Linked DNA regions of Homo sapiens: regions 1, 2, 4, 5, 6 and 7 are each linked to region 3. Evidence: promoter capture Hi-C in 16 types of primary human blood cells and fetal thymus (Javierre and others, 2016). All regions are on one chromosome and are shown on one strand. Each heading gives the region's core, a stretch centred on a gene start or on the middle of the fragment in contact. The rest is flanking DNA. Distances are from core to core; before and after follow the strand shown.

Region 1 (3,444 bases), core at 74-2,573, 1.4 Mb after region 3:
GTCAATATTCATTTAGATGCAAAAGATCTGAACTCAAGCCCACCCCTGTCCTTATAAAGCCCACCCCAGTCCTTTATAAACCTGGGCAAGTTACTCCCTCTTCTGAGTCATTTATGAAATGGAGTTAATGATTCCTGACTATCTTCCAGCATTATTTTGGAGTCTGTATGACATCATAAATGTGGAAGTACCTTGCACATTCTTATCGTTACAAAGCAAATAATCTCAAGGGCTTTGGACTTTCAGAAGCTTCTGATCTGGATAAACTGACAAAAAAAATATGCTTCACAGACTTGGCACAGTTATTTATAGCCTGGATCCCCTAAGCTGTAAAGTATTTCCTATGGGGGAGCATGCAACAGGACCCCTTGTTTTGGTTTTACTAATGAAACGGGTTTCATATGTTACCTGAGACCTGTAAGAACCACCTGAAACATCCTTGCCATCTACTGCCACTGCACTGCCAACATTTAGGATACGCTTACCCACTGCCATGTAGTTCAGGGGCAAGGGTGGGAAGAATTGAATAGCAGATGGGCAGAAGGCAGTAGAGTGAAAGTGAACGTCGGTACCAAAGAGACCTCCAAGGGAGTCGATGTCAGACAAGCACATGTAAAATCCCCTTCAGGTAGCTGGTGTTGCACAAGGGTGGAAAGAAATACAAAACCATAACCATAATGAAAATAGCTAAGGTTTTCAGAGGAAGGAGAACTCACTGGGGTCCGTATGAAAAGCCTTCCTGGAGAAAATCAGAACCGAGAGCAGCTGGAGTACTGGGAAAATAGAAGAGAACAGCAGGAAGGTACTAAAATCCGAGGCCATCTCTATCCTTTGGTTTTTTAGGACTAAGGGACGAGACTACTCTGGTGCTTTCAAGATAGCCCATCTGAAGGAGCCACTCCTGAGATTTAAAACTGCAAGAATGCTTTGGTCAGACCTGTGATCCAATGGGCTTCAGTGGGGGTTTGCAGGAGGCAGGACTTGTTGTCAGCCTTAATTTTGGTAAAAACACCCACTGCCCAACTCTTCGGCAATGAGTAGGAGAACAGCCCCTAACATTTATGAGCCCTTACCATGTGCCCTTAACACTTGTGTTAGTTGCAGGTTCTCCTTCATTTACAATGGGGTTATACTCGGATAAAACCATCATAAATTGAAAACATCCTAAGTCAAAAATGCTTATTTTCCACCAAATATTTTCGCTGTACAATGGTTTTGTCAGGACATAACTCCATCAATGTGTATCACTTTCGCACCACAGTAAAGTAAAAAAAAAAAAAAAAAAAAAAAAAAAGTAAGTGGAATTACTGTTAAGTCAGGAATCATCTGTAATTTCAGATTCACAGGAATGACATGATAAGGTCCTATTATTGTATTAATTATTTACTGCTATATAATGAATTACCACAAATTTTAGTGACTTAAAATAACACACATCTATTATCTCAAAGTTTCTGTGGGTCAGGAATCCAGGTATGTCTTGCCTGATTCCTTCAGCTCCAGGTCTCTCACACAGCTGCAATCAAGATATCAGCCAGCTCACAGTCACCTCATTTCAACTAGGGTAGGGTTCATTTCCAAGCACACTCAGTGGCTATTGGTAGGTCTTAGTTCCTTGCTGGCTGTTGGGCAGAGGATATCCTTGTTTCTTGCCATATAGACCTCTCAATATGGCAGCTTGCTTCCACATAAAGAGCAAGGAAGGGAGACAGCAAGATGGATTTAAATTGATTTCAGAGTCTTTTAAAACCTTATCTCACAAGTGACATCCTGTCACTTATGTGATATTCTCATTAATTACAAGGAAGTTACTAGGTCCACTCCATGAAGGGAATTGCACAAGAGTATGAATACCAAGAGGCTGGGATCTTTGGGGGGACACCTTAGAGGCCTTTCTACCATAAATATGATCTCCATTTTACACAAGAAGAAATGGAAGCTCAGAGAGTTTGGAGAACTTGCTTTAGGGTCTCATAGCTAATAAACTGGAAGGAGGATATGAATGTGGGTAACCTGAATCCAGAGTGCCAATGCCTTTCATCAGGATGCCCTCCAAATAGCATGAACTGTGCTGTGTGGAAGAAAGGCTTTCTTCTTCAGCTATTACCACTGCTGGGGGGGCTTGAGTTAAACCCAATTTATTGTGCCAGAGAATAATCTGTACATCTTGCCTGCCACAACTCAGATTCAGATAGCAATAATTGTGGCCCTGCTGGAGCACAGAGTAAAGCACTCATTAGAGAAAATCTTGGCCTTTGGAGGATGGAGACATAGAAAAAAAAAAAAAAAAACACTGAGTGCCTAGCTGGTGCCACCTCAGGGTCTTGGACTTTCATCCATGTGGGGAAGCATTATCCCCTTATTTTCATGGGGCTCTCTCTTCTCATTCAAGCTTCTGCTTCAGGTTTTTCTGTAACCTCTCCAACCTAAAACATCTGACATACCCATCCCTCTCTATTTTATTTTTTTGTTTTATTTTTATAGCATTTCTTCTGATTTGATGTCATTTTACTAATTTTGTGTTAAACTGATGATGCTCGGTCTTCTTGCACTGGAACATAAGCCTCACGGAAATCAGACCTAGTCTGTTTTATTTACCCTTATGCCCCTAGAACTGCATGCAGAAGGCTCTCAATGGATACTTGTGGATTGATTTGCCACATATATAGCAGACTAAGGGTTAATTGGTATTTAGGTTGTATAAATAATACATTCATAAGGAAGAGACAAATATCCAATGGAAAATCAACCAGAGATGTGAACAGGCATTTCCAGAAAAGGAATCCCGAAATGCAATGAGCTGGAGAGCCCCATTAGTAATCAGAAAAAGAAGATATAAATTTATTTCCAATTGACTAGCAAAAATTAAATGGTTTCACAACCAAGAATTATCAAAGCTAGTGATAAACACAAACACTCACATACTACTGGTGAAAATGTAAAGTGGTTCATCTACTTTAGAAAGCAATTTGGCAATATATAATTACATTAAAAATTAGCAGCCTGTATGGTCTGCAATTCCTCTTCCAGATGTATATTTTAGAGGAATTCTCAAAGATGTGTACAAGAAGACATGTGCAAGAATATTCATTACAGCATTGTTTTTAACAGTGAAAAGTTGGAAAACATTCAAACGTCCACCTATAAATAAATACAATGTACTATATATATAAATTATATTCAGCTGTTAAAAATAATGACCCAAACTATAATACAAATCTCAAAAACATGTTGACGTCCACTTCTGGTTCTGATGCAGTAGCTGTAGCAAACCACTGTTCTAGCTGAGAACAGTAAGAAAAACATTAAAAAAAAATTAATTGTCTTGAAGGCAGCAGAGAGCTGCTGAGGCAGCCAGGAGGTTAAGCTGCGTGCACAATTTTCTGAACTCCACTTTGATGCCTGCATTGGCTAATTCTTTGTGCAGGGGCCTGGGAAGCCTGG
Region 2 (3,887 bases), core at 946-3,445, 1.5 Mb after region 3:
TCATTCATTATAATCTAGTATTTTCTTAATAACTTAAAATTTTAGATTCTGCTATTTTCTAGGCTCTTCTGAGGTTTGCAAGGCGTTGCCCTTGCACTAAGTAACATTACATTGAGATGTAGCATTGTGTTTAACATTATTTTAAAAAATTGTTATTAGTAGTAATGAGACCTGAAAGAGCTATTTTTACTCCTAAAGCAGACAATCTTTCACTGAGAGAATGAAATGGGCATAGGGAAAAGCCTAGATATTACTATATGATGAAATTTAAAAATGTTCCAATTGAAAATATTTTGGGGGAAAGCTGTTCTGTATGTAATGACAGAACAGCTAGAATTTAAAGTTTCCAAAGTTTAAATTACACTCCAATATTTCAATTTAAAGAGAAAGATTATAAGCGAATGGTAATTTCTCTAATTGAGTTACCATAAATATTCCTCCAACAATGACAATATTTTACATTAATGTGCATGTTTATAAACAATACACTAAGTTCTTATTCTATTTAGCCCTATCAAGTTTCTATCTGAAAAATATTTTCTCACATTTTCTACGCAACCATTCCTTAAGATTACATAGAATGATGTACTTAGAGTTTAAAGACAGAGCAAAAAAACTTTTTGATTTTTCTGTTTTGCTTTTCTAAATTTCTTACCAAGAAATTTCTTATGATGAGAATCTGACCTAATACAATTATTTCCAAAAGGAGAAATTTTCTCTACATTTTCCAGTGATTTAATCAGAGTACATTGGCATATTCACTACTGCAAAAGCCAAGAAATCCTATATGGATTATCTCAGTGCCATAGAAATGAAAAACTAGAAGGTATTCAGACCATTATTTAGAGTGATTTACTTACTCAGTATGATCATATTTTCCAACTTCAAGCTTAGTTAAAAGCAACTTAATTTCAACATTTTACTGAAATACAAAGCCAGATTTTCTCACTGGCCAAAAGACATGGCCAGCTGGAATTATAGAGCCCATAGAGGACACTTTAATACCATTCGACCACAGAAATTTTGTTTAGAAAGTTTCCTCATCTACAAAGCTAGCTTTCTCAGGACCTTTCTTCTAATAAAGAAATAGATGAATCTAAGTTAGTATTGAAACATACACTAGACAAAGAACATTCCAATCACCCTGAGAAATAGAACTAAATTCACCCCTTCTCCTGGGGAAGATAAAATGTCAGTGTTTGAACTCAGGAAGTTATAGAAGCTTCCAGTGATATCATGGATTAACTTGCTTTGTGGCTTTGCTTTGAGCCTAAAGTCTTTGCTACTGGCCTAGGAATAAGTCCTGAGCCCCTTTAGCCACCACCTGGGTAAGGACAACAGTGAGTACCTGCATTAGTCAGGGTCCAATCACAAGACAGGAACTATGTGGAAATTTGAACAGAGGAAGTTTAATATAAAAATTACTAGCTATAACAGAGCGTTAAAGTAGTAAGGGATTGGCTAATAAGAGGTAAAGAGTGTGCTACAGAACACAGGTGTAGAAGAGCTAAGGAGCAACCACTATCCTCAGGGCTGAAAGAGAGAACCCTACCAAGAGCCTCTCACTCATTGCCCCAGGGCTGAGATCCAGACCTTGGTGGAGGGCATGGTTATGGATGGCAGAGAAGTTCTGCCACGCATACTCATCTATCCTCTAGGGTGCTGGGCAAAGGTGGTTTGCCTGAGACACTGTGCTACAAAATCACTTGCTGCTGAGTACTGAGGATAGCTGTGCAAGTGCTGGGGAAGTTGTCATACTCAAGGAGCCTGGTGCTGGGGACGCTGTGCACTGCAGGAGCCTGGTGCTGGGGAAACTGTGCATACTCAGGAGCCTGTTGCTGGAGAATACATGCACTGCAGAAGCCAGGCACTAAGGAAGCTGTGTGTCCTGCATGACCTAGGCATGCTGCAGGAGTCTGCTGAGAGAGCACACTAGAACTAGAAAAGACTATTGCTTCCTCCTAGAAGGACTTTTCCATGTCTCCTACTGACAAAAACTTAACATCATGCCAGACAGCAGGGGGAGTAATTATTTAAAAGGCTTACTTATATTTTTGCAAAGCAGATAACAAAGGGTAAATCTGAAGCTGACAGGTAATAAATTGATAACTGACAAAGAACCTCAGAGACGAAGCACCTTCTAATGTTATGCTGAGAGCCAGGTCACTGTCACCATGGGTGTGAGACCCTTTCTATATCCTGGGTGAAGCCTCAGTAGTTGATGCTCTGTGACTGCCCTCTTCCCCATGTGCCACTGAGTTATTCTTATGTTCCTAGGCTTCTCCTTTCCTCCTTTTACAAAAATGCTCGAACCTCTATCAGGAATAATGTGTTCAATGTCTGCCACTGTAAAAACAAAACAAAACAAAAAAACTTTTTTCTGTCTGGATTTATTTCAATCAAGTGAGAAACAGTGTACATGTATCATGCGCCTATTATGTGTCAGGCACTCTCAAAGGTACTTCTCTGTCTTGTTTTATCTTTAAAGAATGTAGGTATTTCAACCCCATTTAATAGAGGTTCATTAACATGGTTCAGATTAATCAGCTATTAACTATATGCTTAATGTTTTATGTGAATTTAATTATCCACTTATAAACTATGTAAATTTTGGAAAGTTAATTAAGCCTTTGATGCCTCAGTTTCCTTGTTTGTATAGTAGAGATAAGGGTAATATTGACCTCATACAGTTGTTGCAAGGATTAAATTAGATAATGGTCCAAAGTTCTCAAAACTATGCATTGCACATTATATGAGCTCAGTAAACACAAGGAAGTATAGTATTAGTGGTGGTGGTGATATAAGTTGCAGTAGTATTCAGGCCCAGATCTACAGACCTCTGAAGCTCATGATCCTTTTCTCATGCATTACTGCTAACCATTTTTTCCTTTTTTACACAATCAGTTTCTACAGAGTGTAGCTCTAATTCTAGAGGTCTGAAGCACATAAAGGACTCAGTGGATGGATGTTATGAGAAAACTGCGTTAACTCTACTAGGATAAGCATTTCAGAAATAGACATCATAAGAAATTGTCATGTCAATGAAGTTTGTATTCTAATATATCCCTATTCTCTCCTCTCATCTCCAATACATGCTCTCCATCTTTAAACCAGCTCTCAGGCTCTCGTTAGGCTGTGGGTCTCATGCCTGGTAAGAGCCAAGCTTATAATCTTATCTTGGATCCAGGAACAGTGAGATTAAAACCTATAGTAAATAAAAGATGTTCTGAGAAGCCCACTGCCTTTCCAGTAACAATGGGACAGTTCAAACCTTTGGCCATATTTGCCTCCTTCTTTCTTTCTTACCCTATACAACAAATAAGTTGAGGTTTCTAGTTTGGCAGTTTATTATTGGCAGGAAGGTTAAGCATAATCCTCAGATCTGCCTTTGGCAGGAATTATCCTGTAAGGTCAATATGAGCAGCTTTCAAAATGGCTGGTTCCAGTAAATCTTGTTACTATTGAAGCTCTAGGTTCAGTGTATCAACTCATAGAGATGTGTCCTATCTCTGCCACTTAGCAGGTATCTAGCCAAAAGGGTTACTTAATCACTCTGAGGCTCATTTGTTTATAATATATGAATAATAATAGTAACTACCTTAAAGGGTTTTGTGGACAAAGATTTATAAACTATTTACATTCACAGATATTTGCAACTGTGCCTAGACCACTGTAAAGTACTCATGATACAGGCCAGCTAGTTATTTTACAAACTATTTTTCTCCTCTGGAATATAAATCTAAACTACCATTCCAAACTTCCTTTATGTGTGGCCAAGGACTGAAAATTCAAAATGGACAGAAGTAACATATAGCACATCCAGGACTGACTTGTGAAAACCTCTTGTGTTATTTTCCATTCTCTTCCTCCATCTGCTAGCTGGATGT
Region 3 (3,935 bases), core at 1,003-3,502:
CTGAGTCTTTTCCTTTTTCGTAGTCAATTTAGCTCAAGTTTTATTAACTTTTTTAATCTTTTTAAGAACCAACTTTTGGTTTTGTTGATTCCATTTTTGTTTTATCTGTGTTTTGATCTTTTATTATTTTCTTCCTCTGCTAGTTTTGTGTTTGCCATTTGTTCTTGATATTTAATGTTAATAAATGTTTTACTTTTTAATAAATCTGTTAATATTCCAACTGTTTTTTAATATAATTCCTTTCCTTTGTAATCCTATGTTTTAAAAACACTTGAAAACATTGAAACGACATAGGCTTCACCACACTTGTAAAGGTGCCATAGCACAAAAAAGGTTAAGAATCTTACTCCTATTTAGAAACCCCCTTCCCAAATCCCCAATTTCCATTACATATCCTGCTATTTTCCTCTTAGATCACTGGTTTTTAGACACATAAATATTCCTGTTATTCCTTGAACAGAACAAAGCAAAACTTCTAGTCAGGTGCGGTGGCTCATGCCTGTAGTCCTAGCACTTTGGGAGGCTGAGGTGGGCAGATGTCTTGAACCCAGGAGTTGGAGATCAGCCTGGACAACATGGGGAAACCCATCACCACAAAAAATACAAAAATTAGCTCACTGCCAACCACTTCCACCCAGAAGGGATTCTTGTGCCTCAGCCTCATGAGTAGCTGGGATTACAGGCACCCGCCACCACGCCCAGCTAATTTTTTGCATTTTTAGTAGAGACGGGGTTTTGCCATGTTGGCCAGGCTGTTATCAAACTCCTGTCCTCAGGTGATCTGCCCGCCTAGGCCTCCCAAAGTGCTGGGATTACAGGCATGAGCCACAGAGCCTGGCCATCTCCACTTTTTCTTATCCCCCAAAAGGATTAACATCCCTGGCTTTATGTAGAATAGTGTACGCTGCCACATCAGTGTTTGAGTCATTCCCCAGAGGAGAGGGGAATCCCCCCTCCATTTTTTTTTTTGCAACATCTTGTCTTCCCTTTGCTGTTGCTTCCCCCAACACACTTGGTTTTGTTCTATCCTGTACTTCAGATTTGTTTTTTGTTTTGTTTTTTTCATATTGAAAAGATGACATTGCTCCAAGAGGCAAAAATAAATGGGAACTGAAAAAAAAAAGCTTTTTATCTTATTTATTTAATCTTTTAATTCACCTGGAATGAATATTATGTCAATTGGGAGCTTAAATGCTTAAATGTATTTTTCCCCAAATGGTTAACTAATCCTCCCAATAGCACTCATTTGAATAATCTGTCCTTTCCCCATATATGTTACATGTCTTTTACAAAATACAGCCTATTTGAGGTATGTTTCTGGGCTTTTGTTCTATTGAGCTGTCCATTTGCTTACACCAGAAATGCCAGTTTATTTTTTTGTAGTCTTGCAATCTTTTAATTTCTACTAGTGCTTTTTAATTTAACCTTAATCCACTGTATTTGTATTTTTTTCAGTGGTGGTAAAAGGAAAAAATTAAAAATCTAATGAAAGCAGCCAAAAGCACACAATTTATGTCCTGTTAAGACTTCCGCATGTAAGTATCATGCTCCAAATATATTTTTCATCTTTACTTTTTATGACGGAAAGGGCTCAAGTACTTTGGGAAGCAAAACAGAATCGAGGGACGCCGAGAAGATACACAGCAGGCATGTAGGGTAGCGTGGTTGGCAACTGTTCTTACAAAATTTTAATTTGAATTATACGTAATGTACGTAATAAATTACTATTTGGATTTCCCTTTGGCATAAACAGCCAGGGAATATAACTAACATCAAAGATCCCAGACTCTCGACACAATATACTACTAATCGTAACACAATTCTAGAGGGTCAAAAAAGGTAGAGAAGTTTGGACCGTGGAACAGACCTGGTGGAATGTCGACACAAAGCGTTTCAGGGTAGACAAAGCCTACTCAGAACACCCTAAACGCGGAGTTTTGCTAAGTTGGGACGCTAAAAGGCAAGGGAATGACAGGACGTCCGCAGGCTAATTCGCCATTAAGAAACAGAACCGCGGCTTCTTCCACCTCCAGCGTCATCGGCCCCCAATTCGCTGTAACAAACGGATAGTGTCTCGCAGCATCAGACAACGGACTTGGAAATCAGTTTGCGACCACGCATCTGCGCCTTTTCTAGGAAAAGAGGAAGGCGGGTCCAACACTGGTAACGGCAGAAACATAGTTCACAAGGGCCACTGCAAACGCCCCGCCAGCAGCGGAACCGTTATCTCGCGAGACGACGGATCCCCATAAGGCACAAACCTAGCGCCAAGGTTGGCTGTCAAGGTAGATTCCAGGGTGTGGAAGTGGCTTTGTGGTGCCACCTCTAACCGCTCGGAGGTCAACCCCCATTCTACACCGAAAACTAGGCCTTGGCTGCTATGGAAGGACAGCGGCAAGAAAGCCACGCAACCCTAACACTCGCCCAGGCTCATTTCAACAATGGAGAGTACGCGGAGGCCGAGGCACTGTACTCCGCTTACATTCGCCGGTGCGCTTGCGCGGCCTCCAGCGACGAGAGTCCCGGGAGGTAACTATCGCGAGACCTGGGGCCGCGGCGACCCCGGGTGGAGGCGACGTTGGGGTTGTTTGGGCTCCTATCTTTGCCTCTGGAGCTCACGGTCGGCGCTTGTCATAACCCAGCACTAGGACTGAGCGGGCGGACGTTCGTCTTTCTAGAAAGGCCTAGGCGAGGCCTAGGACGAGGGCGGCGGAGAACGCGGGGAGAAGCCCACCCGTGAGGAGCCAGCTGCCGCGACGGTGCGGAGAGATTTCCGGGAACCAAGCCCTCTGCGCGATCCTCGGGCGCGGGCCGCCGCCTCTCACCCCGCCGTCTCTCCTTCCACGTTCCTCATTCGCACCCAGAGACTTAGGACAGATAGGAATTTTCCACTCGTGATTTTAGCTGGCGGGAAATCCGCGACCTGGGAAGGGAAGGGGTCACGGCTGCGTAGGGCCACAGTACCGCGACTCCCATCTCAGTGTCACGGCGCAGGCTCTTGGTGGTGTTTTTCACTTGTGAAAAACGTTTAAATATGTGGAAGAGAGCATAACGAACGTCTAGGTGTTTATCACTTGGCTTAAGCATTATCAGTTTACCTATTGTATTCATCCATGGATGTTTCAGAAGGAACCACCATGTCATCATCACATAGTTACTTAATATCAAGTCGTCAGTGTTGGAACCATTCTGATCGACTAATAAGGTGTTTTGTTCTTTGGTTCCCTTTTCGCAGTTAGTTCAAGTCAGGATACACATCAAGTCTTTTTAAGTCTCTTCTCCACCTTCCCCTCTTTATTTGTTGAGGAAACCGATTCTTGTGTCCTTTGAATTTCCGTGTTTTGGACTTGCTGACTGAATCTCTTCTGTCGTTTAATGTGGTCATCTGTCTCATATTGCTGTGAATTGGTGGTTAAACCTTGAGGTTTGATCCAATTGAATTCAGATTCAATATCATGGCAAGAATACTTTTTAGGTGGGTGTGTGTACTTTCACCAGGAAGCACATAACGATTCGCTGACTTTCTCTTTGTGATGTGAGCGGCTTCACCTGTTACTGTCTGCTTGCCCAAAGCATCTTTTCGGCTTGTGCCTGGATGTGTAGCATTTGTTTTTACTCCAAGTCTTGCCTCGACTGGGCTTGTTGATGGTATGGAGTGGATCAGGATGAGAAAAGAACAGAGGGGTTGGTTGAACAGCTTTTTGAATAGTTGTGAGTTGTCTGTTGTGGATTTGAGTTTTCTGGACAGGATGCCAGCTTGTCTTTTGTATGAGGCTTAACTAAACACTAAGGACTTGATTCTTACCCTGTTTGTTACGCTACATGGAATTAAACCAGAAAGAAAATTGCCTTCTCATTTCAATAACACACAAGAATAATAATAGAAGTTTCTGAACAGGCAATAAGATGATACCATCTACTTTCCTCAGTGCACC
Region 4 (3,728 bases), core at 82-2,581, 1.5 Mb after region 3:
TTGCCTTTCCCTGGCACCAACTGCAACCAATTATTATTTTAGAGAGGCAGTTAACAACCGCCTGACCATCACCTGATGGTCACCTGATATTCCTGGTGCGTGTGGTGGTGGGGACGAGGGGAGCCCTCTCCTGCTCTGCTCATGTCTGTCTAGTTACCTACTGTAACAAGACCATAGTATTGGGGACAGAGCTAGCACTCAGCAAAGACATGTTGAATAAATAATCCTTCACAAATCATCATCTCATGGTCTGAAGTTCTGGATTTCAATCTCTTGATTCCAATCTGTCTTGAGGTGAATGGTGAGTCCCCAAAAGCTGTGTTCACCTGAAGTCTGTGTGATCTGCTTTGTAAAAAGGGCCTTGCAGATGTAATTAAATTAAAGATCTTGAGATGAGATCATCCTGGATTACCTGGGTGGGCCCTAAATATTGTGTTGGTGCAAAAGTAATTGTGGTCTTTTCCATTGAAAGCAATGGCAAAAAACCGCAATTATTTTGTACCAATCTAATACAATGTTGTCCTTATGAGAAGAGGAGAAGACACAGAGAGAGAAGGTCATTTGAAGTCTGAGGCAGATGTTGGACTTACATTGCCACAAACCAAAGAACACCTGGGACCACCAGATGCTGAAATGGACAAGGAAAAATTCTGTCCTAGAGTCTTTTGAGGAAGCATGGCCCTGCCAACACCTTGATTTTGAACTTCTAGCCTTCAGAACAATTGGACGATGAATTTCTGTTGTTGAAGCCCCCAAATTTGTAGGAATTTGTTATGGCGGCCCTAGGAAGCTAATATACAATCTTCATGCCCAGCTCATTTTAGATCTCAGTGAGGAGCTTCCTGCCCTATTTAGCAGGAAGAGAACGGGGGCAAAATGGGTGAGGCACCTGGGGTGAAACATCTCAGGAGGCACTCAAGCACAGGCATGTCTCCTACTCCTGCAGTATCCGTGATTACATATGCAGGCTTTAAGAAATCAAGACAAAGAAAATACGGGTGTAACTTTGTCTTGAATTCTAAGTTCAAGTTACATCTACAGATCTATTTTCAAGCTGATAGACGTAAGACATTCTGATTGCAGTCAGAGTACCTCAGAATGCCCCAGAAATGTTCACGGTGGCCTCATGAGGGACAATAAACTGCAAGAGTGTCTATCCAAACAGTTGGCCAAATTTTTCAAACACTCGGACACCTCATTTTGAGAAGAAGAAAAAGGAAACAGTCTCAGCCTGAATAATAATTCTGTTACTATTACCCCCTAATTCTTCTGGGTGTGCCAGACATACATGGCAAGGAAGAGAGTTGGAGAGAAAGCAGGGATTTCTGAATGTGACAAATAGAAACCCAGAAAAGAGTTGCATAAAGAGAAAAATCATAGATGGAGCCCAGGAAGTTAACAGCATCCTCAGCCAGCATGGTTATCAATCCAAGTGGTGACTTGATCCTCCTTTGTTTTTCTCCCCTATCTGCTCCTTGATGACATAGAGTAACTGACTCCCATTTTAAGCCAATTAACCAGAAATGTAAGTTTCCATTTCTAGATTTTAAAATGTTAGAAATTCCTCTCTCTCAGTTGTAATGGAGCTAGAGTTGTTGTTTAAATCAAAGTTATGTTTTGTAAACAGCTACTCAAAGGAAAAAGAAAGCCAAACTTCTCTCCCTGAAGATTCCAACCAGTTAGGAAGACAGCAATATATAAAATGAGCCAGATGATCTAATCTCTAAGTGTTCCATACAAAGTTTTATATGGCTAATCTTTCACATCCAACTTTCAAAATGTCTCCAACTGGCTGACCAAGGAGAATTACATTTTTTTGCCCTTAAGTCCATGATTATGTGGCAGAAGGGAAGACCCTTATCTTTTGTCTTCAGTTTATTTTTTCAAGTTCTTTTTTTTTCATGAGGAGACTGTGTACAAGTAACTGTTGGGTTAAGTCATTGCTGTCCAGTGATGTGAGATTTCAAGTTGGTAGTGAGCAACAGGATATCTTCTGGAGCTAACACACTCATTTACAGATGAGCCAGCTGAGCCCCAGCATGAAGAAAAGACCTCTCAAGGTCATCAGAAAATCAGAGAAAAGGAAGACTTGTTGCACACCTCCTTTTGCTAGCATTTTATTCGATATGTTATCTGCATTTTTTATTTAAATCTCCTGATAGTCTTGTGAAGTGAGTATAATTATTGTCATGTTATAGGTGATAATCAATAATAAGATTCCAGGTTTGGAAATCTTGCAAAGTATTATCTTTGCAAAGTATTATCTTGCTTCATTTCCAGCCCCCTGTATGTGGTCCTTTCCTCATCTGTTCATCTATTCATTAAATTAAAACATCTTGTGTAGAAGACAAACTTTATGATTCCTGCCCTCTGATATTCACTCCTTGCATAGTTCCCTTCACTGAGTATGGGTGGGATCTGTGACTTGCTTGTAAACAGTAGAATATGGTCAAAGTGATGGGATATCACTCAATCATGTGATGTGATTATGTCACATTGTATGACTGTCTTGCTAGAAGACTGGCTCTAGAAACTTTCTCCCTTACTGACTTTAAAGATGTAAACCGTCATGTTGCAGAGGGTCTGTGAAGAAGACCACATGACAAGAAACTGCAGGTGGCTTCTTAGGGCTGAGAGTGGTCCCTGGGTGACAGCCAGCAAGAGGCCAAGACCATACTCCCACAACCATACAAGATGAATGCTGCTAACAACCTGAGTGAGCTGAAAAGCAGATTCTTCTCCAGTTGAGCCTTCACATGGCAACACAGCCTGACCTACATATTAAATTAAGCCTGTAGCAGAGAACCCAGTTAAGCTGTGTCTTGACTTGACGCACAGCAATTGTGAGAGAGTGAATGGGCATTGTTCTAAGATGCTACGTATATGGTAACTTGTTAACTCAGCATAGAAAAATAACACAACATCTATTATAACGCAGGTCCTGGAGATTCAAAAATCAGTAGCAGATTTCCTTTACCCTCAAGTTAGGGGCAGAAGAGATAAATAGGTAAACATTACATAGTTACAATGCACAGAAATAAATTCTATAAGCTTTTGTATAAAAGTTTGTGACAGTGGACAGGAAAGATGATGTGAGAAAGTTTTCTACCAGTACTTCCTTCTTCTCTCTCCAGCCCCCGAAGTCTCCTTTCTTTTTATCTCAACTTTCTCTTAAATTCTTCATTCCCACTGATAGGCCATGACTAATGACTCAAACTGACCTTTTATTCTTTGTGAGATACAGCAGAGAATGTGCTCATCAACCTCTGTGAGTTTCCTATCCTTTGGCATTCAGTATAGTACATTTTGTGGACTTTCTTAAGTTGGGTGGTGCCATGTGATTGAGTTCCAGACAATATTATTGTGGTATAGTAAAATGCACTATATTTGTGCCTGGCTCCTCAACTCTCATACAAGGTCTTTCACACCAAATGTAGAGGATGTGGTAGAAGACTTCATGGCCCTGGAAATGGAAGGACCCTGGGTTCCTAAACCTCTTTGTGGAAGCATGCCCATCATATAATCATCTCACTATAGTATGAGCAAGAAATAAACATTTATAGCATTAATCTACTGGGATTTGAGTTGTTTTCTACAGCAGTTATTCAGTAGGGGATACCAGTTAATTTCAACTAGTATCAAAGATAATTAAAGGGATGGGATCAATGGATAAAGACTTTTCATTGTGTTTAGCTATCTTTGAGATTTCCAGTATCCTACAGTTAAAC
Region 5 (3,912 bases), core at 780-3,279, 1.5 Mb after region 3:
TGCCATCTCTTGGCAAAGAACAGCTGAATGCTAAAGGCATATTTTCTCAAAGTGCTTGTTAATGACTTGACTGTGGAATTACTTGCTGGGCTGCTGCTCTGGAGTGGTCATTACAATATTTCATTCTTCTTGCTTAATTTCAGGCTGTGCTTCCTCCATACATAAATACATCAAGCTATATAAAAACCAGAACTTTTATCTGCATACAGGGGTTTAGAGAGTTCGTTTCTCCTGCTCTGTAGGACAAGAAAAATCATTGTTTCCCGCTTTGATTTAGAGATTTGATTTATGCAGGTTTGCCTTTCAAGCTTCTGTTTCAGATGTGCTAACTCTCAGGTTTGTGTGCATTTGCTTGGATTTACTGACATGAGTTTAATTCCTGATTTACAACCTGCAGGCTTCAGATGAAGAATGAATTTTGATTTAGGGTAACACATTCTATATGGCTTCTATTTTCTACTCAGATTCAACTATTAGTTGGTTTTAGCACAAACTGAGTTATGGCTTTTCCTAAAAGGCCCTTTTTTGATTAAATTAAGATGGATTGAAAACCAAATCTTTCCCATATAACTACATGAAATAAAGTCCCTTCCTACAAGTCTGACTGACATGAAGTGGGGCCTCCAGAGAGAAGCTCCCCTGCTTCTGCACAGTTCTGCTGATTCGTGGCTGAGTATTGAAATCTTCTGGTTCTTCTCTCATGATCATAGGTTTGTTTCTTCATTTATCCATTTTCAAAACTCTTTGCAAAGATCTTTTACAGTCGTGTGTCACAGGATAAGCAGAAAAAGTTCTACGCCTTGTAATGTGTTGATGAACATCCAGTGTCCTGAATCACCCCAAACACACAAGACAAGTAAAACAACAACAACAAAAGAAACCCAGCAACACATGTAAGTCTTAATGTGCATATAATTTAGTATATTCTTCTATTTGGATCTTTGAGATATGCTCCTTAAAAGTTGGAAAGCTCTTGATGTATAATTAATAAAAGTGGTCTTTTCTCCAGTCTCACTTGGGTAACAGTTTCTTGAACTGATCAACCTTCAATCTGCCAAGGATCTCCATTTGCCTCAAAGATATTTATAACCATTATAGCAAAAATGTGAAGTGAAAGGAAAAGGTAACTTCTGATTCTATCTCAAAACTATAATTTAATGGCAAACCCCATCTTTAACATGGCCTGGGTGACTTAAATATAGAGTTTTTTGTTTGTTTTGTTTTGTTTTTTGTTTTTGTTGTTTTTAAGACAGGGTCTCACTTTGTCATGCGGGCAGTAGTGCAGTGGCCCAATCTTGGCTCATTGCAACCTCCGCCTCTGGGTTCAAGCAATTGTCCTGCCTCAGCCTCCCGAGTAGCTGGGGCTACAGGTGCATGCAACCACATCTGGTTAGTTTTGTATTTTTAGTAGAGACAGGGTTTCACTGTGTTGGCCACGCTGGTCTCAAACGCCTGATCCTCAAGTGATCTGCCCACCTTGGCCTCCCAAAGTGCTGGGATTATAGGTGTGAGCCACCGCATCCAACCAATGTAGGGTTTTACATAAGGAAGACTAATTGGCCTGGAAGAGGAAGAGGTGAGAACCTGCCCTTTGTGGCGATTATTGGGCAAAAAAGGGAGAAAGGAGAGCAGAGTGATCAAGCACTGGATGTTCTGAAGAAGGAACACAGACATATCAAGAAAGGGCTGGTGTGCCAGCAAAGGTATGGGATCAGAGCAAAGGCCAGGGTCAGGCCTTTGAGGCTTGAGCCAAGCAGTGTGGACCCAGACTCCAGCCGAGCAACTACTTTACAATCAGGAAGAGCAGAGGGTCGATATCACACCTCACAGATACCCTGCTCCCATAGCCATCAACACAAAATCACAAAGACACAGCCCTCTGCCATAAACTCAGCTACCAGCTTGGAGAAAAACAGAGGAAGAAAGAAAACACCCAAAAGCTGAGAGTTTATTTGGATTATTGACCAGAAAGAGAGTTATTTGAAGAGGCAGCTTTAATTATGCAAATGAACAGAATTGACCAGAGAGGGGCATATACAAAAGATGAAATCAGTTATCAAAGAACAGTAGATATATATTTTATTTGAATTTATTTATTTATTTACAACTCCAAATATGTTTGCAGCTTGTTATGATTATTGAAATGCACTAATCATTGTATCTGTGTATTAAATGACTTATTAAAATTACCTAGGGCTGGTGCAGCTTGTTTTGATTATTGAAATGCACTAATCATTGTATCTGTGTATTAAATGACTTATTAAAATTACCTAGGGCTGGTACAGCTTGCTGCAGATCCTCAGGAATATTTTAATATATTGATTGGTGTATCTATTATTTATGTAATGCACTATTTAATCACTTGGTTTCTTTTAATGGTTATTTTTATGCTAACCTTTTTATTTATTGCATGTGACACTAGTTTTCCAGTTATAAAAATGACATAAAGTTTCCTTTTAAAATTAAGTTTTTTAAAAAAGAGTTGATTTAAAAAAATATTTAATAAATAATAGTGCAAATGGATAGCAGACATAGCAACAATTATAAAGTTGGTATCAAAATGTCTGAAGTTTGAGAGGTGATACTCTAATGAAAATTATGGGATCTTCATCCACAAGGAAACTTGAAATGTGCACAAGCACCTAATAATCCTTTCGATAACTGGAAGCAACAGCACCAGGCTGGGCCCGTTAAGGGAAGGCTGATTGGTTAAGAAAATCATTCAAAGAATAAAGGGTACTCACATTGGAGCTCTTTTTATGTGCTGATGCTTTACATATATGGTTCTAATTTAACCTTTACAGCAGCTCTGTGATTACATTTTAAATGAGTACACCAAAGGCCTGAGAGTTAAGAGATGGATCCAAGTTCATGTAGCTAGTAAACAGCAAAGCTGAAATGTGAACCCTACTCCCTAAGAGCCAAGATATGTACTAAATCGAAGAGTTGAAGTTTGTCACTGAGATTCATTAAACAGCTATCCAAAACAAACAAACAACAACAAACAAACAAACAAAAACAGCTGTCCCAAGAGTAGTTGGGCCTATGTCTGTCTCCTTTCAGATTTCTCAAACCGCAACTGGATGTTGCTGCCCCAAGGGATGAAAAGGAGGAAGACAGTCCCTTAGCCAATAAGTAAAGAAGACGGCTCAGAGACCTTGACCTCTGAGACCGTGCCCGGGATGCACCTCAAATCACCAGGGTGTGACCGACCACTCATGGGCAAATAGCATGCGAGGTTTGTCTGTTGTGGTCATCCTGCGGCTAAACTAGAATCCTAGCCTGGGGAGAGTCAGCAGTAGTGTCTCTTAGTTTATAATTCATTAGAAAATGTCAATCCCCACTTCTTGGGATAGTTCAAGGGTATAGTGACAGGAATCTGAGTTGGCTACTGGTCGGTTAGGTCGTTGGTTTCACAAGCAAATGCTTCCCCCTAGTGGCTATGGCTGGTCATTGCATGTGCCTCCTCTCAGGACTCACTTCTGGAAAACTCTAAGGTGACTGTGCAATGTGGGTCACAAACAATTCTCCCTCACCTCCTACCCCCAGTAACTGCCCCACCCTGTAATATTCCTCAACAGTCCCTCTGTGCTTGCTGGACTGCCTTTGCGCCTCCTGCCCACCCTTCCCAAGGTATACTGGCTGCTTTCCAGACTTCCGGGTCCCCTCGTCCAGGACACTGGTTCTTCTCTCCTGTGCCTGGACCAGGCTGACAGCTCTTTCTGAGCATCTGCAGGCCCTGAAGCTTTGGGGACAGCGCCCTCTCCTGCTAACTTCAGTTTCACGCATGCAATTGACTCGCCCCCAAAACCGGATTGGAAAGTCTTCTCCAGACTTTCTATCCCTTAATGCAACCAGCCTAGAGAGGACTAGGCCTGTGGGTTAGAGGGATTTTATTAAATGCTGAACTCT
Region 6 (3,855 bases), core at 1,209-3,708, 1.4 Mb after region 3:
ATCGTGCCACTGCACTCCAGCCTAGGTGACAGAGCGAGACTCCATCTCAAAAAAAAAAAAACTTCTATGTATCAAAGATATCAAAGTTAAAAAGATAACACTAAAAGTAAAACTACAAACCACTGAATTGAAAAGTATCTGCAGCACATACAACTGACAAATATCAGCCATCCAGAACATTTAAAGAACTACATACATCCTGAAGAAAAAAAGAAACAAATGAATACAAAAAGATAATGAAAAGATATGAACTGGTCTTTCTAAATTGGCCATAAGCTTATGAAAAGTGGTTTAACTTCAGTGGCAATCAGAGACATAAATATTGAAACCACAATGTGAAATTGAATGTCAAAAAATTTTAAAGTTGCATAATATTAACTTTGGTAAGATGTTTCACTCGTCGCTGGTTCGAGGGTAAATTGGTACAATCACTTGAGGAAACAGTTGGCATGATCTCTTGAAGATGGAGATTCATGTACTTTACGACCAGTCTTTCTAGACTTGCTGTATATACTATAGAAGCCTTTGTATATGCGCTCCAGAGGACACGTATGAGCATATTCGCAATAACTGAAACTGGAAGTAACCTAGCTGTTCCCCAGCAGTAGAATGGCTACCTGCATGACAGTTTCTTATACCAGGGTATTCTATACAGAAAATAAGATAAATGAACAGCAGCTGCGTACAATAACATAAGAAAAATCTCTAAACATAATGTTCAATAATGAACAAATCATGGGACTGTACATATATATTATATATATGCATATGTGTATATATAATATATATATGCATGTGTGTATATATATTATATATATGCATGTGTGTATATATATATAGCTGTGTGTGTGTGTGTGTGTGTGTGTGTATACAGTGATTCTTTTTGTAGGAAGTTGAAAAATAGCCTAAACTAAATAATGCTTTTGAGGAAAAATTTTAACAGCATTAAAGCTCAGGAAAACAAATAAATGATTATGATGATAGTTAGCATAGTGGTTACCCCTCTCGGATGAGAAGAGGATTACAATTGCATAGAGGCAGACACAGGGCTTCTGGGGTTCTGTAGGTGCCCCATTTCTTGACCTGGGTGCTGTTTTCACAAGAGTAGTTCTTTATAATCATTCATAGAGCTATACATATATATTTTATATATGTTTAAATATAAATTTTCGCTATCTGCAAATGTTTTGAATAAGGAAGAAAGGGAGGGAAAAAAGAAAAAGAGGGGGAAAGAGGAAGGGAAGAAGGAAGGGAGTTGGGCAGACTTAACTGACGCAAATGCCAGATCCATCCTCCCCCAGGGTTGGTATCCAAGCCATTGGGCTTTGCTTATTGTTTGGATGATTGCATCCACACCCGGTCTGGATACCTTCCTCTGGAACCTGATGGAGCCACCACTCCAAGTTGCCAGTGCAATGAAATTATCACATGTTGAATTTCATACTGACTTTAACCTTTCACCTGTGATCTAGATAAACTTCAAGCTGACAACGCCTTGGATTTCAAGAACTTAAGCCTGCACTTTGCTTCTATGAGGAACTGCCAATGTTTTGCCCTCAGGCAAAGAGGAAACCTGATTTCTTTCCCCTGACCATGTCTCAGAATGTCCAGTTCCAGCCGTTAAGATCTCTCCCCTGCTGCAATCTGCTAATTAAGAACATACTCTGTCACCTCTCTCGCTCTCCCTCTTCATCTTCCTCTCCCTTTCCCTCTTTTCCCCTCTCTCCACCTCATTTCTTAATTTTTCCCTCCTACTCTTCCTCCCTTTCATAACATTGCATCATTTCTGATTGTCCTGCTTTGTGATACAGTTCAGGGAGGTTTGACACAGAGAAGAACTGTCAGTTCTTTAATCACTTCTTTATTATCAAGATAGGGAGAGAAATGCCATTATCTTTCACAACTTCACTTTGTGGGACAGATGTATTTTTAGTAGGCTCCAGAGAACTGAAACAATTCTATACATTAACATAACTTCAAAATCAACCACTTTCTCATTGATACAATTTGGAAATAAACTGAAGTGGGTATAGTTTCTTGCTCTTCTGTCCCTCCCAGGGGACAACAATTAGTGAACCAACCACTCATATGGAACTCTCAATTGGCCACGTGAATAGAGTGAGTGGGTAAGTGTTCATGTTCCTAACACATATAAAATATAAAAAGAATTTAAGAATATTACAATCTATACATAGATATATTTCATTCTTAGGATCTGCTCTAGCTAAAATAAAAATGATAATCTACCTACTAATTATTAAGCCACTGTTATATATAAGGTACTATGATAGTTGCTTGCTATACACTATTTAATTTAATCTTCAATAGTTCTACATGTATGTATTGTTTCTTTGCAGACTGAAGTGAACTGAGCTTATAGTGCATATGGGAAAAGTTTCTGTATAGTTCAATCTGCATCTAATTTATGCATGGATGCTTAGCAACTGTCAGAAAAGCATTCTGAACACTCCTCCATGGGGTGAACATTAAAAGATTCTTTTCCTCAGGGATCTAGAACTAGAAATACCACTTGACCCAGCCATCCCATTACTGGGTATATACCCAAAGGATTATAAATCATGCTGCTATAAAGACACATGCACACATATGCTTATTGCGGCACTATTCACAATAGCAAAGACTTGGAACCAACCCAAATATCCAACAATGATAGACTAGATTAAGAAAATGTGGTGCATATACACCACGGAATACTATGCAGCCATAAAAATGATGAGTTCATATCCTTTGTAGGGATATGGATGAACCTGGAAACCATCATTCTCAGCAAACTATCGCAAGGACAAAAAACCAAACACCGCATGTTCTCACTCACAGGTGGGAATTGAACAATGAGAACACATGGACACAGGAAGGGGAACATCACACACTGGGGCCTGTTGTGGGGTGGGGGTAGGGGGGAGGGATAGCATTAGGAGATATACCTAATGTTAAATGACGAGTTAATGGGTGCAGCACACAAACATGGCACATGTATACATATGTAACAAATCTGCACGTTGTTCACATGTACCCTAAAACGTAAAGTATAACAAAAAAAAAAAAGATTCTTTTCCCTCAAACAGGAAATTTTACAATTGTGTCTTAGAGTTTTAACTAAGTCTGAAACATTAAACAAAAATGAAAATGTAAGAGATAGGATTGCATAAGTCACGGGGGCATCAAAGAGGATCGGGTGGTGGGAGTAGAAAGTGTGGAGATAAGATTCCTAAAATCATTGCATGATACCCTCAGAAACCACTAACAGTAACTTCCAGCCTCAGCAACTCCCTTTGCTTATCAATTTACAACATGGAAATGGGTACATCACTCAAAGTCTATGTAGCAAATATTCGTGTCAATGGTGCTTAAAAATTCTGTCATTTTTTCCCCAAAACCCCTACAGAGAATCTCCCACACTGAAAATTAAGCTCAAGGAAAGTTTTGCTTCTTGCAATTTAGCAGTTTTGAGTTTTTCGTGCATGGGCGCCACTCCACCCCATCCCACTCCATCCTAAATTGAGTTTGAGGCTTTTTTGTTTTCACTCTTGCATAACATGAAAACGAGTGAACACATTTTACTCAAAATTTCCATCTGCAAATCCCCTAAGTGGTGTGAAAAATCCTGGAAAATCTCAGAGCAAAAGAGGACGCTAGGAAAAATCAGGACAAGTGGAAACAGCAGTGAGGGATGTAACCTAATGTCTGTGTCAACACAACCAGTGTTGCTCAAAGACGTCCGCTCTGCAGTGAGGCTGGGCTGCTAGGTCAAAGCCATGGCTTATTTCTGTTTCACAGTGATGATCAGGAAGCACCTGCCCCCATCAACAACCCAACATGCCTCTCCATTGTCCA
Region 7 (3,769 bases), core at 19-2,518, 1.5 Mb after region 3:
AGCCATAAAAAGAAATGAAATCATGTCCTTTGCAGCAACATGGACAGCAACTAAATAAGAAGCTCCCAGCATGTTTCTTAGGCATGCTAATGTAGAGTGACAAGGGAGATTAGATAACATCTTTATTGGGGAATAATATTACTAAAGAGAATGAGGAGAAAGAGCCAAAGCAAGAAACTTGCAAAGAGAATAGATAAAGAAATAGAAGGTTACAAGAATTAAGGAAGACGTTCCAAGAAGGGGGTAGTTGTCAAAGGCATTGAATGCCTCAGAGAGCGCAAATAAGATAATAAAGACAATCTGCACAGCTCTGAGACTTCAGGAAGCTGATCATTCCAGGCTGAGATGTGTATTTTGTCCTTTTTCAAAGAGGCCTGCTATGATCAAAGCTTTAGATCAATAATTATGTAGTAACATGGACATATTTTGAGTTTGAAAGGCTGCGCATATGGTGACCATTGACCAAGATGTCAGGAAGGAGGAGATACAGGCTTTGGGTGAAATGATAGAGCTGGTTTGGAATCCATTGTGTTTAAGGTATCTTTGAGATAATCAGGCATGGCTTTACAGAAATAATTAGTGCCCAGAAAGGAGGTTGAGTCTACAGTGTACAAATGAGGTTTCATCCTCCTGCATGTGGTATTGGGCTTCAAAGATGAATGAGATTGTCCAGAGAGAATGTGTGACTGGTGAAGAAATAGGAACCATTTGTGTGATTCAGACAAGAAATGTTTTTCATATGATCAGAGAAAAGGTCCAGGCTGATGGCCAGACAAAGGGACACAATGCAACAGTCACTGAGCTGGGCTGGAACTGTTGAAATCTCTGTTTGGGGTGTCTGTGGGTTTTGCACAACTCCTGCCTGCTTTGCCTGCCCTTAGTTACTTCACAGGATCCACTGGAGAGAGCTATGGGAAAAGTTGGCTTGGGTGTTACTCCCCCAGCCCCTCCCACTGATGGTTAGTTATTTCCCCCTTTGATTTCATTTCTTGGTAAAAGCCATCAGTTACACTTCAGGCAATCCCTGTAGTGTTATTTTGCTTCTTTTCTTGGCTCTTTTATCTCCAGATAAGAGACAGTACGTCCCCATAGACAATGGTGCTGCTTTTAGCCTCCCAGTGGACATCTCCCTTTCCACTAGCCCTGAGATGGAGACTTCAGGGAGAAGAAGAGAGTCTTGCACAATCATGATCAAATGTATGATTTATTTTAAGCTAACAAACAATTGTTCTGACTCCCTCAGGGGACAAATTCTAATATTTCCAAAAGAAAGTGGAGCCAGCACCACGGGCTGGCTCGTTGAGATGTACTGTAAATAGCTTCCAAATCGGGAGTAAAAAATGCAGCTCAGTTGGAAGGAGAGAAGACAAGGCCCAGAGAAATGGCCACGTTGGCTCATTATTTTTCTGAAGATGTCCATATTGGCACTGCTCAGCCCGATGTCGGCAGAACACATTTATTGCCTCACACAGCCAGCCTTTGTCATGTGGAATCAGTTGACATCTGGGGGCTGTTTCATGTTTCTCTTCTTCATCTGCCCTCACTCAAGTATTTGGAGACATCAGTTACTAAACCAAGCATGAAGAAAGCAATGCTAATTAGGTCATCCTCTATAGTGCAGTACACATGGTAAGGCTCTATTAAAATAAATAATGGAATAATTAATGAATTCATTAGCAAATTCATTTCCTGTCAGTTTGAGTCTCATCTGAGGGCTCGTTGCAGAGGTTGTTCCTAATTTCATTAAAGACAAGGACTTAAGCAGATCTGTGAAAATTTTCAGGATATCACATATTGGGGAAAATGATGATAGAATTTTTCTTTTACCCCTTTCTCATGTCATGGCAGGGATTGGGAGGGGAGCTGTTGTTAACCATCTCCTAATGTGAATATGTAAGGATGAGGGTTTGGCGGGTAGATGGATAGGTCTTCTAGCTAACAAAAGAGGAGGAAGGAGCATCCCAGGATGCTTCCCACGTAAGTCAAGAGCCAAGCACAATGGGGATCTGAATGGCAGCCAACATCAATTGTTGTATCATCTTGGCAATTCTTGGTGCAGAGACTTGTTTGTCCAAGGACTTGAAGTTTAAGGACAAGGCTGCAAACTCTAAAGGACTATGTCCATCATTAGCAACTATACAAGCTTAACCCTGAGTCAAATTTATTCCTGTCTTTGTGTCTGAATATAACCTCAGCTGGACCCTAATAGCTGTTTTTTACTCACACCTAGAAAATTACTCACTGAATTTTCCCCAACAGCTATTTAAAAGTGTCTCCATTCTTTCCAAATCCTTTACCAAACTCTGTCTTGATCATTTCCCAGAAGTATTTTAGATTGCCTTCTTTGCTAAGATTGAGGCCATCTGAGGATGAGGTCCTTTTCTCTCCACATAGCAGAAGAGAAGAAGTCTTTCTGCCGTCTCGCACCTTCCCTTCAACCTTAGAGAAAGTACTGCCCCTCCAAACCATGGTGACACAACCTCACTTATCCTCAGAATCCCCTCATTTCCACTTTCTCAGGGGCCTTACCCCAACAACTATTCCCCCCCTTTCTCCTTTTTCCTCTATCCTATATTAATCCAAATTTCTAAACATATTTATGCTGCTTTGACATTCTGGGGGGCCTAACTGGACAGGGAGAGACTGCCCCTCCCAGGGATAGCTAATCCCCAGAGACAATAAGCAACTGGCCTGCCAACACACCTCTCCCATGCAAACCAACCAGTCCTTAGAGGCCAGGCCCTTAACCTCCTTCTTTATCTAGCTTTCCCATACCAAACCAATATTTTCCCTGCCCTAAATCGACCCAGGAACCAACCATCCTATAGCCCAGAGCCTGCCGACATTATTCAAGAGCCAGTCCTAAGCTGTTTCCCTGCTCTGCTCGCCATTCCCACAGAAAACACAATAAAAGCACCGAGCCAAGCTTTCCCTGACAGTCCTGCCTTTGCTTCCTGACCAAACCTGGTGTGGGAACCGCGGCCCTATATGGTGTGGCCTGCTTCCTTCTCTTGAAAACCATAAGTAACAAACTTTTCTTTTAGTAGCAATGACCTCTCTGTGTCATCACTCAGTCGTCTCCATAGGCTAAAGCCTTGTGGGTGCATCTTAACACATCTCCCTCCCTCTTGTCTCCCTCTCTTTCTCCTTCTCTCTCTTCTTTTCTCTCAACCTCTTTGGTTCTTTCTCTTAATTTATTTTATATATTTCATTTGAAAATGTGATTGCTTTTGCAAAAAACAAACATTTAAAATTTTATTTCAAAATTGAAATAATATAGAAAATAGAATAATATTTTTAAATGCACCAGAAGATTTATGCTCCAGAGAAATACACTGATAATATTCTGGTGAACATCCCTCTAGACCTCTCTTTTGTATAGAAATATATATACACTGTATATATGTATGTATATATGTATATATTTCTAATAAATGGGATAATGCCACACGTCTCTCAAAAACATGTGGTTCATAGCTTTACATTTCAATAAATTGAGGTCTACTTCACTAGTTTTAGAAGCTAAAGATTTTAGGTGTAACAAAATGTACTTACCTAAATTATTCTATATTTTATTGTTATTTTTTATTAATTTAAGCAATAATGCAATAAACATATTCATTCATTCATATTTTCACATGTGTATATTTATCTTCTTAAATTCCCAAAAGTGAATTTGACAGGTCAAAGGGTATATTCCTTTTATATACTGATATGTATCCTAAAATTGAACACCAGAAAGACTATTGTATTTTGTATTTCATGTCCA

The links. Contacts are between HindIII fragments. The CHiCAGO score rates a contact against its expected background, and 5 or more counts as called.
Region 1: a contact is called between a fragment that was not itself captured here and the fragment with the promoter of TTC32 in region 3, in 12 of 17 cell types (total CD8 T cells, naive CD8 T cells, non-activated CD4 T cells and 9 more). The highest score is 18.6, in total CD8 T cells.
Region 2: a contact is called between a fragment that was not itself captured here and the fragment with the promoter of TTC32 in region 3, in 1 of 17 cell types (endothelial precursors). The highest score is 5.9, in endothelial precursors.
Region 4: a fragment that was not itself captured here is called in contact with the fragment with the promoter of TTC32 in region 3 in 1 of 17 cell types (erythroblasts); the score reaches 5.0 in erythroblasts.
Region 5: a fragment that was not itself captured here is called in contact with the fragment with the promoter of TTC32 in region 3 in 2 of 17 cell types (naive B cells and non-activated CD4 T cells); the score reaches 6.1 in naive B cells.
Region 6: a fragment that was not itself captured here is called in contact with the fragment with the promoter of TTC32 in region 3 in 5 of 17 cell types (megakaryocytes, naive CD8 T cells, total CD8 T cells and 2 more); the score reaches 10.3 in megakaryocytes.
Region 7: a contact is called between a fragment that was not itself captured here and the fragment with the promoter of TTC32 in region 3, in 1 of 17 cell types (erythroblasts). The highest score is 5.5, in erythroblasts.

The regions. Positions count from the first base shown.
Region 1 is chr2:18,528,141-18,531,584 of GRCh38, reverse strand. It overlaps LOC105373454 (a long non-coding RNA gene), which reads right to left. Exons shown (of 8, transcript XR_001739302.1): 8 at 1-3,444. Among named protein-coding and RNA genes, the nearest start is that of RDH14, 31 kb to the left of the region's middle. The HindIII fragment of the contact is 2,143 bases long and covers 252-2,394 here.
Region 2 is chr2:18,408,887-18,412,773 of GRCh38, reverse strand. The region is part of intron 4 of LOC105373454 (a long non-coding RNA gene); the gene reads right to left. Among named protein-coding and RNA genes, the nearest start is that of RDH14, 150 kb to the left of the region's middle. The HindIII fragment of the contact is 1,941 bases long and covers 1,225-3,165 here.
Region 3 is chr2:19,900,300-19,904,234 of GRCh38, reverse strand. It overlaps TTC32 (tetratricopeptide repeat domain 32), which reads left to right and starts at 2,252. Exons shown (of 3, transcript NM_001008237.3): 1 at 2,252-2,529. The coding sequence starts at 2,381. RefSeq lists enhancers at 1,900-2,139, 1,529-2,409, 2,590-2,689, 2,770-2,829, 2,970-3,159 and 1 more. The HindIII fragment of the contact is 3,134 bases long and covers 1,127-3,935 here.
Region 4 is chr2:18,425,901-18,429,628 of GRCh38, reverse strand. The region is part of intron 4 of LOC105373454 (a long non-coding RNA gene); the gene reads right to left. Among named protein-coding and RNA genes, the nearest start is that of RDH14, 130 kb to the left of the region's middle. The HindIII fragment of the contact is 3,445 bases long and covers 1-3,053 here.
Region 5 is chr2:18,387,399-18,391,310 of GRCh38, reverse strand. All of the region lies in intron 2 of LOC105373454 (a long non-coding RNA gene), which reads right to left. Among named protein-coding and RNA genes, the nearest start is that of RDH14, 170 kb to the left of the region's middle. RefSeq lists a silencer at 3,389-3,518. The HindIII fragment of the contact is 3,437 bases long and covers 311-3,747 here.
Region 6 is chr2:18,503,802-18,507,656 of GRCh38, reverse strand. All of the region lies in intron 6 of LOC105373454 (a long non-coding RNA gene), which reads right to left. Among named protein-coding and RNA genes, the nearest start is that of RDH14, 55 kb to the left of the region's middle. The HindIII fragment of the contact is 4,359 bases long and covers 279-3,855 here.
Region 7 is chr2:18,443,241-18,447,009 of GRCh38, reverse strand. All of the region lies in intron 4 of LOC105373454 (a long non-coding RNA gene), which reads right to left. Among named protein-coding and RNA genes, the nearest start is that of RDH14, 120 kb to the left of the region's middle. The HindIII fragment of the contact is 1,754 bases long and covers 392-2,145 here.